Regions from separate parts of the Homo sapiens genome. Here region 1 is linked to region 2. Evidence: promoter capture Hi-C in 16 types of primary human blood cells and fetal thymus (Javierre and others, 2016). All regions are on one chromosome and are shown on one strand. The core of a region is centred on a gene start or on the middle of the fragment in contact, and the rest is flanking DNA. Distances in the headings are between cores, read along the strand shown.

Region 1 (4,604 bases), core at 504-3,003, 540 kb before region 2:
TCTCTAAAACCAGACCCCAACCTACTTTGTAGTGTCTCTTCGTACAACCCTCTGTACACTCCAGGTTCCTGCCACTCTCGGAACAAGCCACTGTCTGTACATCTCTGCCGTGCACCTTCATGGGTTGCCTATAGCGTCACCCTACCCCACCACATCCAAGTCCCAACCCTTCTTCCTCCATGAAGCCTCCCAATCTCTCCTGGTGGAAGCGAACTCTCTGCTGAATACCCTGTAGAGCTCAGTTCACAGGCTGGGCTCCTCTACCAAGGGGCACTGCTGTGCCTTCAGCACACAAGCACAGGGACTTAGCACAGGCAGGCCCACACTTAGTAGGGCCTGCGGAGGGCACAGCTGACTTCCCTCCTGAGCTGACTGGAAAGAGTGATAATGCCTCCATAAAGCCTGCTGGAAAATAAAGGGCTAGAGAAGCAGGCTAACAGGATGAGCTGCCCAGTACTTCAGGCACAGGGGATCCTATCCTCGGGGGTCCTACAGTTAGTTCCCCAAATCAGAGCATCTTCATTTTGATGTCTTATAAACAAATTGCAAGGAACTAAGCATTTAATCAAACTTTTCCAGGCAAAACCAGATGTCAGTGTCTTATTTAGTCTCTGTGACCTCACAAGCCTTTCGTTATCCCAAACAGTAAGTGACTAATCCCTTCTCAAATGTTACCAAGTGTCTGGGCAGCAGGATATCCTGGGGCTGGACTGACGCAGCCGGGCTGGACCATGCGACACACAGCTGCCTCAGGGAAGGCATGGGCTTCAGACTCAGGCGGGTGGGGTCCTGTCACAGGCTCCCAGCTCCCCCGCCCTCAAGGTGGCCACCAACAGGGCCACCTGAGGCTTTTAGAACGCACCTCTGCGTGAGAGCCGGGTGTCCGCATCTGTATCCACAAAAAGCTTCATCTGGAACAGGTCTCGTACCTCCTGGGAGTAGAAGGCCAGGATCCCTTCAAAGAGCACCACGTCTGCGGGATAGACAGTAACTGTCTCCTCCTTCCTGCAAAGCACAGAGCAGATAATGGGCCAAGCCAGGCAGGGGCTAGCAAGGGACAGAGAACAAGGGCCAGAACATCTGGCTGGGCTGGGTTCTGGGTTCCTTGCCCCCACAGACTTCAAGCGGGGGCTAAAGACTTGGCTAATATGGTCTTACAGAGCCCTCGGACCACCACCAAAGAGCCAAGGGTGATCACGGCCGGGACAAAGGTCTCCTTTGACCACTTCTGAGCTTTCACCATGAAACAGAAATACACGGCAGACATCCTTCTCCTTGGAATTAAAAAAACCTGCTGTTGAATGAAGAATAAAGGCAGACAAAAACAGATGTGATTTCTTTTTTTCTCTGAAGGCGTCTCCAGGAATGCTCTCATGGCCTGGCATTTATGGAACCTAACACTCTGAACTTTAAAAACAGAAACTCACAGTTTTCTCTCAACAACTCCATCCCCTCCCCGCCAGTCCTGAGGCAATTGAAAGGAGGGAGGAAAGGACAGAAGGGGAAGGGAAGGAGGGAAAATAAAGAAAAGTTTTGGGAAAGAGGATACAGACGAGAAAGCATTTGTGAGGAAGTACAGAATCCCGACGTCTGTCTGGTCTGGCTCTACCCCAAACCAACAAAGTGGCCACAGGTCAATCCTGAGCTCCCTAGAGCTGCTCTTCCTTATCAATAAAGCAGAAATATGCATGACCTCATCCACCCAACCCACATGGTTGGGTAGCCTAGGGCAGGCACTAATTGTAAACATGACTTTTCTTTCTTTTTCTTGTTTTTGGAGACAGGGTCTCACTTTGTCACCCAGGAGGCTGGAGTGCAGCGGCGCAATCTTGGACTCACTGCAGCCTCAACTTCCCAGGCTCAGGCGATCCTCCCGCCTCAGCCCCCTAAGTGTCTAGGACTACAGATGCACACCACCACCCCAGGCTAATTTTTGTATTTTTGGTAGAAACGGGGTTTTACCATATTGCCCAGGCTGGTCTATAACTCCTGGACTCATGCAACCCACCCACCTCAGCCTCCCAAAGTGCTAGGATTACAGGCATGAGCTACCAAGCTCAACCAACATGACTTTTCAAAAAGCAAGAAGGGTGAAACATTGCTAAACGGTTAGGCGACGGGCTGTCACAGATGGCCTTGCTTGTGCTCAGCTTTGCCTTGCTGCAGCTTTCACTGTGTTTTGTCTTTTGATTCTGTCCTATGCCCACCTTATATGTCACCAACTGCCTCTTGCTCAAAATTCACTGAAAATAGAGAAATAATCATCATTGCAAGGTTTCCACTCACCCTGACTAGCACACTGGCAAACCAAATAAAACAAAGTCTCTTAAAACAGTAGTTCCATCTGTGCAAACATAAGGAGGTCAGTATCAACGGCCAGCTCAAGAGGGTGCCGTTGGAACTCCTTCCCATAAACACTTCCTGATGCCTTCTCAGCTTGGACCAACAGGCTTGTGTCTGAGTTTTAAGGCAGGCACTGCTAGGGTAGCTAGCAAGTGGCAGAACGGGGCAGGGAAGACGGGAAAAAAGGACTAGGATTAGGAAATGCCCTAGAATTGTGGTGTATCTGAGATGCATATCAGAACCATCTGGGAAGCTTATAAAAATATCCCTACCTGGATCCTACCCCCAAGGAGCTCTGATTTAATGAGTCTGAAGTGGAGCTAGAACTTCAACACTATTTAGAAGCTCCCAAGATATTTCTAACATGCAGCCAGGGTAGAGAAGCACCAGTCTAGAGGAATGTCAGCTGCCAGAAAATGGTGTGCCCATTGTCATTGTGCATAAGAAGGCAACCTAGAGAAGTTCAGAAAACAGAACCAATGGGTAAGTGAAATAGTGAGCCACTCTCTAGGCAACTCCCCTACACCAAGGAGAGTGTGGGAAGGCTTTGTCCAAAAATAAAGTGAATGTATGTGCAAGAGTCCACTTGAACACACTAACAGAGAACACAATGGCTGCACTAAGTTTACATATCCAGGTTAAGTATCCCTTATATGAAATGCTTAGGTGTTTAGAATTTTTGAATTTTGGATTTTTTTCAGATTTTGGAATATCTGCATTATATTTAGGGCATCCCTAATATGGCAGGGGGAGAGAGGATCTACAATGAGCCTCCCTAACATGAAAATCCAAAATCTGAAATGCTCCAATGAGCATTTCCTTTGAACGTCACACTGGCACTCAAAAAGTTTCAGATTTTGGAGCATTTCACATTTTGGGTTTTTAGATTAGGGATGTTCAATCTGTACTGACACTAGATATTAAGAGCATTTTAGGATGCCTAACTGATAAATACTAAAAAGGAAAAGTGGTTTTCCTTCGGAAGGAGAAAATTAACTGCCTAATTTGTTGGTGGTGCCTTAAGAAGTTAGAATTAATCATTTCCCAAGTCCAAACGCAGGTCTAAAAACTGTCATAACAGCTCAGAGTTTTTAAAAAACAACAACAAATTTATTGAGCAACTACTAGCCCAGAATGTGCAAGGAGTCATACCTGGCATAATATACCACTTAGGAATTTAGAGTCTGGCTGGGAAGCCCCAGAAAGAAACTAGCCAATTAGATCATCTGAGATAACCCAGTCTAACCATCTCATTTGGCTTATGGGGAAAAGGATGCTCAGAGAAATGTAATTGCAACAAGTAAATGTCTTCTTCATTTTAGCCCAACAAATTTTTGTTTGTACCAAACGCCCATGGGTGGGATGGAATCAGTTAACCCTGAATGGCTCGATGTCCAATTAAGTGGCCCTTAAGATTTGCAAGGAGGTAGGAAAGGGGTGGATATGGGTCTAGGGTGATCAGTGAAAGTTTCTAAGACATGAGCTTTGAGCCACTAAAGGATAAGGTTTTAAAATATAAGGTATGAGATAAATCAGGAGGAAACGTGAAACATGTCTGCACTGGGAATTCTACCAGGATTTTCTTTTGTTGGCATATCAACTTGATGGAACTCATGATGCACGAGGTCTTCAACTTCCCTCCTCCACTCCTAGACTGCACTGGTCAGGCCCTGGCTCCTGTCAACCATGCTCAGTTCCACTGCTTTCTTTCAGGCCCTTATCAGACTCTCACTGGGGCTGTTCCAAAGGCTTCTTCACAAATGGCATTGCAGATCCTCTCTCCTCCTGCCACCACAATGACCTTTCCACTACAACAATAGACCCGTCTGTAGCTCCCTATTGCCAAAATGTCTGTGCTCCTGGCCCTGCCGCCTATGGCCCTTCATGACCTGAGGTCTGCCTGCCTTCCCACACACCCACTCCCATTCCTCCACACCTCTCCACTGCCATGCCCCAACCAAGCTGATCCATGCCTAGCTCTGAAATGCTTCCCTACCCAGCACCTTGGAAATCCCTTTCCCAAACAACTTCTTATCCTTTCCTATCTAAAGCTTAAATATCACCTCCTCCATACAACCTGCTCTGAATCCCCTGCTCTTCCTCCCTCCTTTACATTCTTCTGCAGGCCCTTGCCTTAGCCATCATGCTGCATTTTAATTCTTTACTTGGGAAGTGGTGGGCTGGAATGTCTCTTGTCAACGTGACACCACCACCACTTCCCCCTAAGGGAGAACTACAATTCTCAGAATCCCTTGCCCCAC
Region 2 (4,893 bases), core at 1,773-4,272:
CTCATACAAAATCAGGAACATTAATGGGTGTTATATTGCTTGAGAAACACCCTGAATACACTATCACTGGAAACTCACAGCAGGCCTGGGTGCCATAATTTATAAGAGACAGGAAAACTGGATCAGATTCGAAGACTGGGCAGGAGAGTGAGGCCAGCTCTGCCTTCATCTAAAAGTTTTAGAGGCAGGATTTGACTTCCTGAATGGCTAGCCCCGAGGAATCAATGGAACAGAGGGTGGAAACTTTAGGGAAATGAATTTTGATCCATTACAAACTAAATGGTTGGACCACATGAGCTTTAAAATCATTTCCAACTCTAAACGTGTAATCTTTTGAGTCCCCTCTGAAGCCTATTCACCTCATTCCCATGTATTCTCAGAGTACTTCTTTTTGATAAAAGGGAGAAGATGGCTGATTCTTCATAAATGGCTTCTGGGCAGTGGCTCTGTGGCATCTTCTTTCATTTAAAAGGTAAAATAAAAGTGTTTGAGTTTAAATCACAAGGAAAAACACGAGGCATGGTTAGGAGGATCTTTCATAGAGGGGTCAGAATGATCCACCTGTGATCGTCTCACCCATCCATGTCACTGAGTTGGATAAGGCCAAACTGAAACAATCCTTGGGTAGGAATGGGATTCATGACTCCTACTTCATTGAAAGAGGGCAAATAAATCACAAAAGAGAAAACTCCGAATAAATAAGTTTTATCTTTATTGGTTTAGACACATCACTTAAACACATCAGCCAAGACTATACCTAGGCAACCACTGCTCAGCACCTCATATGGATCTGTTGGTTCTACTGCCTACCCCACTGGCCAAAGCTACCCCACTGCCTACCCCACTGGACTGGTTTCACAGACTTTAGACTGTGAGGGCCTGACCAACCACATAATGTAGACCCTTCATTCCAGAGAGGTATTGACATCTAAAGAGGTGAACTGATGGCCCAGACCAATTCAGTGGCAAAGCTGGGAATGGAACGGAGGTCCTTTGATTCCTGACCCTTCACTGCAGTGCCTTCTGACTGTAGTGAGAGTTCTATTCATTCCTCAACCAAGTAAAAGGCATTTGTTCATCAATTGTATGTGTCTAGGTCTGCACTAAAAGTGATATGACTTATGATGTGATTTTTGAGGCACCGTCCCCATCCTGAAGTGCCCAATGGCTGGGGAGACATTCTCACCAAAAACCTGTGTGATCTACACTAATCAAGCGGCCTTGTGGGTGGATGTAAGAATTGTTTGAAAGATTTGAGTTTCAGGTCAAATGACAATCTATCTACTTTCAGGATATTCACTAAAAGGAATAGTCTTACCACTAGTTAAAATGTATTTCATATATTTCATATAAGACCTTTAGTGAAACCAAAATTCTGCCGGGTATTTACATAAAAACATTCCTTATGGTTGTATCTGCCCTATTCCATTTTTTTCTTGCTTAACTTCTATTTCACATATTATCCTAATAATACTTGTAGTTTGTATTTTTTTACACCCTGCTCTACCTGGGGTGACAGAAAGGACAGAGGTCAGGTGTTAGGAGACATGCCACTAGCCATCTGGGCAACATCAGGGAAATCTCCCAGCCGTGCTAAGCTCCAAAGATTCATCTGAAACAAAAGATAAAACTGTTCTGCCTACCTCACAGGTTTGCTGTAAAGATCAAGCAAAATCATGTATGTGAAAATGCCTGTAAAGCAGCATTCGAATATAACGTATTAGCCTCTTTGCCATTTCCCCTCTTTCTTCTGGAGTCATATTCAGTGTTTGGCTTGTGCCTGCTGGCAGAAAGCACTTAGAATGGCTTTTTTAGTGCTTAGTGGGGTCGCTGCTCCTAAGCACATTAGAGCAAGTTGCTGCCAGCACTTTTTCTTTAGGAATAAAGAAGTGGCTCTGTCTTTGGAGGAGGTAATAGAAAAACCCTGGCTATGTGGCATCTCCTCTGCCTGAGTTCACCATGTCAAACGGCCTGCCAATTTCATCTCAGTTCAGTTCAGTTTAGGAACTGAAGGTGCCCCAGAGAATCACACTGAATTGAACTGAACCTTCCCATGGTATTCAGATGATGGGACTCGGATTCCATGAATTCCCTTCCATTTCCCTCAACTGTAAGATTGGGACAACAATTGTCTCCACTTCATGGGGGTTGTTGTAAAGATTAAATGAGGTGACTGTGTAACAAAGCTGGCACAAAATAAACGATAAACGCTAGCCAGCATTGTAATTTATTTATTGAGCATCCACTTGGGGTCACACAACATGCTTACCTCCTGGGCTATACAGACGGATAAGGCCTTATTCCTGCTCTGGAGGGGGCTAAAGGTCTGTTATTGTAAATTAAAGTTAGGAGGTGCAGATAATTCACATTTCTCCCCAGATACTTTGTTCCCCTAACAATGTCCCTTTACCTGATTTCCTGTTGAGTGTCATTGCAAGTTCATCATCTGGGGGGCAGATCCCACCTAGTGTCTCCCAAGAGCATGATTCTTAGGCCGTGAGTCCCATGGCCTCTGTACGCCCCATGAGTGAATATGGTTCGACCTTAAAGGAAGTTGGAAACTGGCATGAGCCCTCGGGTGATGAGGGGTTTGAGGAGCTAGGAGCTGCTGGGCCCACATCTACTGGCGCTAAACAGCTTCTCAGCGCTTCCCGGGGCCCGGGTAAGGATTGCAGCGCTTTTATAGCAGCAGTTGGAGAGCGGCGGGGGAATCCTCGTGGCGGCACCGCTGTCCAGGAGGCGCCGACATCTCCGCAAAGGCCCAGTCGGGGTGAGGGGCACTGGGGGGCGACCGGGCCAGAGCGCCCCGAGGTAACAGTTACACGTGGAGGGGAGGAAACTTAGCGTGTCCGAGAGCTCCCAGAGGCGGAGGGGCTCAGAGGGCAGCGGCCGTGTGGTGGCCGCGCAGCCAGGCTGGGAAAGGGAGCACCACGGCCCCGCCACGGGACGCGCTGCCAGCCCCCCGCCCAGCGCACCCCACCCCCTCTCCGCCGCCGCGCACGCAGCGCCGCGGCCCCTGTCAGAAGCTGCAGGATCCGCCCCGGCGAAGCAGGGCCGACTCGCACCCAGGACCCTGGGCCTCTGCCTTCCCTCCTAGCCTTGGAGAAGCAACTGGCCCTCTCCTCCCGCTGAGGAGCGACGCGGGCTGGTAGGACGTCCCGGGAAGGCCGGCAGCTCGCGACCACGTCCCGGCCCAGCCTGGGCGCGCCGAGGAGCAGAGCCAGCGGCCGGCGTTCGCTCCGGCTCCCTCCCCGGCGCTCCGAAGCCGAGGGCGGCTCCTCCGGCTGCAGTCTCGGGGGCGACGCCTTCCCGGGCAGAAGCTTCCAGCAGCGCTCCGCAACTTCTCTCTGCTCCAGTCACTGGGAGAGAGCTCGCCTACCAGGTAAGTAAGGCTGCCCGTGCCTAGGCTGTGGCTCGGGCGGGCGTGTTTCTGAAAGTTGACTTGAAATGCATCCAAGAGTGAGCCGGGCCAGCCGGGGCTCCTCCCCGAGGCGACTCTTTTGCTTCTGCAGACATTCCCGGCACTGGCCGACTGGCGGGAGGACCTCCCCGCGCGCCCCGCACACCGGCTCCTGCGCGCACCCCAACAGAGCGCAGCGCCAGGAGTCCAGAAGCGGGCGGGACGCCCTCCGGGTCCCTTACAGTGCCCCTTCTCGACCTGGGGCAGGTGAGGGCCGCAACGGGGCGGCTGGGACGCGGGATTGCAAACCCCATCGTCCCGCGTGCCTGGACCCGGTCGCTCGAGGGAGGGTACCCACTCTTTATATACCCAATATACCCCAGTAGCTGCGTTCCTGCAGAGACGTCCCGAGGGCCCACCTTCGTATAGGTTGGGGCGGAGTCGGATTCGGGATGGAAAACCTGGGGCAAGGGATGTAGGTGGGGGTGAGGGGGGCAGGAGAAGGAGAAACGCAGTTGGGGGGCGGAGGCCTAAGTACATAACGTGTTGACTTCAAGTGAAATCAGATCAGCCAGAGCAGTTCGCTGTGACTGATCTCTCCTCCCACCCTACATTCTCTTGGCTGGACCCTATCCTCCTGGCTGATTCTGGTCGCCCTGGACACTCCCTCAGTTCTTTCCCAGGAGTGCGGTGGCTGCTGGCGCCGAGTCCCAGCGGGCACGGACGTCAGACGCATCGTTTCTTCTCCTCTACAGGTCCTCCCGGCCCGGCCCGAACATGCTGGACGGCCTAAAGATGGAGGAGAACTTCCAAAGCGCGATCGACACCTCGGCCTCCTTCTCCTCGCTGCTGGGTGAGTGTTCAGGCCGTGCGTCCTGGGCGCACTCTCTTTCCGCTTGGCGCTGAGCTCTGGAGCCCCGCTCTCTGGGACCTGGTCCGCGATAGGGAAGCTAGCGCCCCTCTTCATACACTAAATTGAGCCCCATCACTATCTGTCCGTCAGTGCTTGTGGGTCGTCCCTACCCAAATAAATCCAACAAGCCGCCCCAGGCCTCACGCACTGGGCACCGAATTCCCCAAAGCCGCGAGGGGCGGGCGAGCTTGTTCGTAGGCGTCTGAGTGGCAAGTGATTAAAAATACCCAGGGCTGGATTTTTAATCTCGGAGCTGATCGACGTCTCATAAATGCCGCCCTCTTCTCGCGGCCTAGAGGCAATAGCATCCGAGACCCGAGGCCTGGAGCGCCCAAGTTCGAGGAGGCTTCTCTCCCCCACCAACTCCAGCCCCAATTTCAGCCATGGGCAAGGCCGAGAGAGACTTTTCTGGGCCAGTAGGCAACGCAGCGCGGGGATTAGACCGCGCGGCTGGGCCCTAGGCTCCGCGTTAATTAACTGGAGCTGGATGTCGGGTCCTGTGGGTCCCCCCTCACAACTCCTTTGCAGCGACAGAGGAGGAGCAGCGAGTCAAGGACCCCGGAAGAGTGTCCACACACGG

What was found. Contacts are between HindIII fragments. The CHiCAGO score rates a contact against its expected background, and 5 or more counts as called.
Region 1: a fragment that was not itself captured here is called in contact with the fragment with the promoter of LMX1A in region 2 in 2 of 17 cell types (naive CD8 T cells and total CD4 T cells); the score reaches 6.2 in naive CD8 T cells.

The regions. Positions count from the first base shown.
Region 1 is chr1:165,892,591-165,897,194 of GRCh38, reverse strand. UCK2 (uridine-cytidine kinase 2) reads right to left here. Exons shown (of 7, transcript NM_012474.5): 4 at 863-1,005. Among named protein-coding and RNA genes, the nearest start is that of MIR3658, 13 kb to the left of the region's middle. The HindIII fragment of the contact is 1,691 bases long and covers 908-2,598 here.
Region 2 is chr1:165,354,844-165,359,736 of GRCh38, reverse strand. It overlaps LMX1A (LIM homeobox transcription factor 1 alpha), which reads left to right and starts at 3,022. Exons shown (of 9, transcript NM_177398.4): 1 at 3,022-3,382; 2 at 4,156-4,253. The coding sequence starts at 4,178. The HindIII fragment of the contact is 4,667 bases long and covers 1-3,322 here.